Regions from separate parts of the Homo sapiens genome. Here region 2 is linked to region 1. Evidence: promoter capture Hi-C in human tissues and cell types (Jung and others, 2019). All regions are on one chromosome and are shown on one strand. Each heading gives the region's core, a stretch centred on a gene start or on the middle of the fragment in contact. The rest is flanking DNA. Distances are from core to core; before and after follow the strand shown.

Evidence for each region. Contacts are between HindIII fragments. The study calls those that stand out against the background at their distance.
Region 2: a contact is called between the fragment with the promoter of CDC37L1 here and the fragment with the promoter of PDCD1LG2 in region 1, in 1 of the 25 tissues and cell types used here (lymphoblastoid cells).

The regions. Positions count from the first base shown.
Region 1 is chr9:5,509,129-5,511,828 of GRCh38, forward strand. PDCD1LG2 (programmed cell death 1 ligand 2) reads left to right here and starts at 1,403. Exons shown (of 7, transcript NM_025239.4): 1 at 1,403-1,675. The region is part of intron 2 of INCR1 (interferon stimulated noncoding RNA 1); the gene reads right to left. RefSeq lists enhancers at 1-1,150, 1,092-1,171, 1,232-1,291, 1,452-1,501. The HindIII fragment of the contact is 28,529 bases long and covers 1-2,700 here.
Region 2 is chr9:4,678,170-4,680,869 of GRCh38, forward strand. It overlaps CDC37L1 (cell division cycle 37 like 1, HSP90 cochaperone), which reads left to right and starts at 1,400. Exons shown (of 7, transcript NM_017913.4): 1 at 1,400-1,730. The coding sequence starts at 1,599. CDC37L1-DT (CDC37L1 divergent transcript) reads right to left here and starts at 1,311. Exons shown (of 2, transcript NR_121598.1): 1 at 1,218-1,311. RefSeq lists an enhancer at 1,534-1,623. The HindIII fragment of the contact is 7,477 bases long and covers 1-1,600 here.

The DNA of each region.
Region 1 (2,700 bases), core at 153-2,652:
GACGAAAAGAGGATGCAGGACAAGGAGGAGGAAAGGAGATCCTTGCTTTTGTAGAAGAAACAAGGAGGCAGGGAAGGCTTAGAGGACAGGCAAGGAGAGATGTTTTCTTAAAAACATCCTCTGTCTGAGTGTTCAGCCCCACATCTCTGCTGGTCCTACCCCTATAAGCACAAGGAAAAGGGCGGGAGGCAGCAGGAGAAGGATTGATCATTCAGGCCTATATTCAAGTTTGCCTTTTCTTGCCATGTGGTTTTAATCTCACCAATCACAAGCCTGAAGGTATAGTGGGGCCACTGAGGTCCGAGTTCAAATTCAGCCATGCAACTAAGGAAACATTGTTTGATCTTGGTCCTGTTTTCTCATGTGTAAAATGGGTCTAACTCTAAACCACACATTGCACTGAGAATGAAATGAGGCACTATGAAATGAAGTGAGGTTAGTTGAATAATGTTCCCCCCAAATTCATGTCTACTGAGGACCTCAGAATGTGACTATATTTGGAAGTAGGGTCTACGCAGATGTAGTCTAAATGAGGTCATACTGCATTAGGGTGGGCACTAATCAAACGGATGGTATCCTCATAAGAGGAGAGGAATGTAGAGATACACACAGAAAAGAATGTCATTTGAAGATGGAGGCAGAGATTGGAGTGATACAACTATAAGTCAGGGAATGCCAAGGACTTGAGGTCATGTGTTACAGAAGCCCTAGGAAATGAGTCAATTTCCTGGCACAGCACTAAGACATGCTGGTATTCTTCATTCCATCCCTTTCCCCTATTCCTAAATGTGCTCCAGGGACAATGGGGAAGCTGGAGCACATATAAGAATAGGGGAAAGAGAGGGAATAAAAGGGTATTAAAAACTCTCAAGGTATGTTAAAAAAAAGACTCTCAACAAACCAGGTATTGAAGGAACATACCTCAAAATAATAAGAGCCATCTATGATGAACCCACAGCCAACATCACACTGAATAGGCAAAAGCTGGAAGGATGCCCCTTGAAAACCGGCACAAGACAAGGCTGCCTTCTCTCACCACTCCTATTCACCATACTATTGGAAGTCCTGGCCAGAGCAATCAGGCAAGAGAAAGAAAGAAAAGGCATCCAAGAAGGAAGAGAGGAAGTCAAACTACCCATGTTTGCAGATGACATAATTTTATATCTAGAAAATCCCACAGTCTCAGCCCAAAAGCTCCTTAAGCTGATAAACTTCAGAAAGTTTCAGGATCCCACATGAACATACAAAAATCACTAGTATTCCTAAACACCAACCATAGCTAAGCCAAGAGCCAAATCAGGAATGCAATCCCATTCACAGACAAACTGCTAAAAGCAAAACCAAAACTTTCCAAATAAGCCAGGCTTTCGTCAGTTCCTCAGAACTAGTTCTGGTTTGACTCACTCTCATGTTACGGCAAACCTTAAGCTGAATGAACAACTTTTCTTCTCTTGAATATATCTTAACGCCAAATTTTGAGTGCTTTTTTGTTACCCATCCTCATATGTCCCAGCTAGAAAGAATCCTGGGTTGGAGCTACTGCATGTTGATTGTTTTGTTTTTCCTTTTGGCTGTTCATTTTGGTGGCTACTATAAGGAAATCTAACACAAACAGCAACTGTTTTTTGTTGTTTACTTTTGCATCTTTACTTGTGGAGCTGTGGCAAGTCCTCATGTGAGTAACGAGTGGGTTGAGATACTCTCATACTATTATGTTGTGGACCATGATGAGGCTGCCAGGGTGGGGGAAGGGTGGCCTACCTTCTCTCCACACCATTTGAGGCAAGAGACATTCTGCCTCAGAAATTGTGCTGAGGGGCACAAATAAGCTAATGTCCTCCTGCCCCAGATTTCTCTCACTTGTTCCTATGCATATTGTTCTTGTTGCTCAGTTTTATAAGGTGAGATATTTTCTGCACCAAATATGTGCACTGTAAAATAATATAACTATTCTTAAGATTGTCTCTCAGCTTAGAGTTTTCGGAGGCTTAATGGTGAAGAACTTAAAAATCTGTTTTCCTATGACTGACATCTGTTTGTGATTATCCATTTAGCAGACGGTGATCCCTCCAGGCTGGCCTTTGTTTACAAGCTATGCCTAAGAGGCAGCTGTTGGTGGAGGGGGAACAAAAACAAAAAACCCAAAACTATTATCTTAATAACTTATAGAGGTAATCATTATTGAACAAAAGCATGATTTGGGGACTATGGAAAGGCTTATTCTTTCCATATAAAATGATCAGCGAAAAGGTAGAAAAATTAAACAGAACTGAAATAATTGCTATTGATTGCTCACCGCCTGGATGCACTGAGTAGAAGAGCAAAGGCAATGGGTTCATGTGGAGGGGATGGAGGTGGAGAGGCTAAGCCTGAGTGAGATTACCAACTAATCAGGACTTTTAACCCAAAAATACTATGGCTCTGAGGGGCAGGGAATGAGAGACCTAAATTGACAAAATGCAGAGTAAAAATATTCAGTGTGAGCAGTAATGAGACAGTTGTATCAGGGTCAAATACGGAGTTGGCCTGGATGTCCTCCAAGCTCCTTTCCAAGCCTAAGATTCTGTGAGTGGATGAACAATCCTGGTCCTGCTGCTCTTGCCACTGGAACCTGATCTATTTGCCTTCATTATTTGAGGTCTCCCCATCATCAGGCTCTTTGTTGTCTGCTGCTTCAGGGTGTCTTCTCCCCAGATTTCT
Region 2 (2,700 bases), core at 150-2,649, 830 kb before region 1:
ATATTCAAACAGCACAGTACAGGGAAGCTAAATGTGGAAAGTAAAGATCCTCAGAAGCTTTCCTTCCTAGGCTCACCCACCAGAGGTAATCATTAACAGTTTCTTGCATATCCTCCAGGAATGTTCTGCGCAAACACACACACACACACACACACACACACACACACACACGGACGCAAACAAATACCATCCCTCTCTCTTCTCTCTCTGTATACGTACGCATATGTTTAATTCTGCAAGTTGCTTTGTTTAAAACTCAATACCTTTTGGAGGTATTTATATATCAGCATATTCAGATACAATTTACTTTTTTTAAAAAGGGTAATATGCCATTGTATTAATATTCCATACTTTAAGTTCCTCTATCGATGGACAATTAGAATGCTTTTTTTTTTCTTGCCACACACACACAAAAATTGCTGCCAGAAATCTTTGTAGTAAATCTTTGGATATTGGTGCAAAAATAATTGTTGCATACTTTCTTAGTGGTGAAATTGCTGAATCAATCCGCTCAAGCCTCTCATATTGTCAAATTACTCCTCCTAAAAGGTTATACTAATGACATTCTCACATCATTTCCTTACATCTTGGTACACATTTGGTATTAAGCGACTTCACAAGTTTGCCAGTCTAAACACATGGAAAAAAATGGCGTCATGTTGTTTTTATTTGGGTCTCTTTATGAGTAGGGCAGCAAGACCTGATTGTTAAACGTTCAAGTTTTGAAGTTAAACTCCCTGGGTCTGGATCCTACTTCTTCCTTGTAAAATGTGTGATCTCGGGCATGCTGGGTCTACTTCCTCGTCTCAAAAAAAGAGGATAAAGAGAGTACATATCTTTAGGCTTAAACAAGATACGCAGGCATACAGGAAGCCCTTCTTATGCGTTCGCTACTAGCGGTACTGATCCTAATTTTTTTGAAGCCGTGCCGGCTCCGGTACTTTATTTTTGGTGTGCTCCTCCAACCAACCAAGTTTCGCAGAATTCTGTTGTTGCCTGTAATTAGAAATGAGACGAAAATTGGCTCCGCTTGTTCAAAATTCTCCTCCCTCCGCCCCAACTCTGCCTTAGAATCACTGGTTTAAATGTCAATGTAAAGGAATGAGTTGCAATTTTTAAGCAACATGTAAAGTGCACACCTGGTCTGAGTACCTCCCGGCGGCCAGGACCCGCCGTTTTCGGTATAGGGAACACCAGATAACAATATATAACGCTACCTAACAAACGTTTCTCCACCCACAGCGCCATTAGCGGTTAGGTTTGCAGTGCCGAAGAGCTGCAAGAAAACGGGGCTTGAAACAGGAATACAATTGCAGATCCACCCACTACACGCAAAGGGCCCGGGACGCGCCTCCACAGCCCCGCCCCAACCGGAAGTGACGCACCGCGCCGACTATTTCTTCCGCCGTCCGCCGGTGGCGAGGCCCAGGCTGTCGCCGGGTGTGCAGCGGCGTCGCGGCCAGTAGAGGGATTCTGGGTAACGGCCCGGACCCCCGGCTGGGCTTCTGGCTCGGCGCAGCAGGTTCCATTCACGCCAAGTCTGTTGGCAGTGGCAGTTGTAGGGCCAAGGGCGGTTGTAGGACCCGGAGCAGCCGGACATGGAACAACCGTGGCCGCCTCCGGGACCCTGGAGCCTCCCTCGGGCCGAGGGTGAGGCTGAGGAAGAGAGTGACTTCGACGTGTTCCCCAGTTCTCCCCGCTGCCCGCAGCTGCCAGGCGGCGGCGCCCAGGTGAGAAGGGGCCTGCGTTCTGCGGAGGGATGGAGTGGTGCTGTCGCCAAACCCCTGGAATGCCGCGTCTCCCAGACCCTCTTCTACGCCTTTTTCTACGCCCACCTCACTGCCAGGGGCCGGGGACCTGGGACCTGACGCCTGATGCCATCCCACCCCTTTTATGGCATCTTCGGAGGGCAGACGGGGTGGCCATATATTACCAACCTCCACCTCCACGCACATGTTTTCTTTCGCCTTGGCTGATTCCTGTTCACTCTTGGAATACCTTCCTCCATCTCCCCTTCCTGACAGCACTCAGATTTGGGGCGGCTCATGCTGTAACATTGACCCTTTGTCCTCTTGTGAGAGGTTTTCCCCAAGCACTTTATTCTGTTAAAGGCTCTAGCATACTTGTGCACAGTTGCTAGGAACAGTGAATGATTGTAGTTCAGCATCACACTGAGTCCTGACAAAGATTTCACATGCGATTTTCACCGATGTTGACAACTGAGTAAATTCTTTAAATCTCGCTTTTGACGCTGGCGTACACCTCTCCCATTCGCGTGACCATCTTTGCCTTACTGTTTTGTTTTTTAGTTTTGCTTCACGTCATTCTCCAGTGAAAATATATACGCATATACTTGTGTTTTCCTTCAGACTTCTCTTAGGTTCCTGGTATTGTGTTTTCAATCCAGCATTCCTGCCTTCCTGCGACTGAAACGTATCCAAATGTGATATACTATTAAGGATTTTTCAGGGACCTATCTTAGGGGATACTTACATACTCGCATCACCTTGTCCTGTTTTTTTCTCCGAATCCGTGTGTGTTTTGGAAGTATATTTCAGAATCACAGACTAAACACTAATATATTCAATGGATCATAAGTGTCTGCCGCCTTCTTGCAAAATGGGGTTCCCAAGAGTGTAACAGATTTAATAGTAGTTTTCCTCTCAACTTATTTTGCTAGATGTTAATGAGAATGAGTTA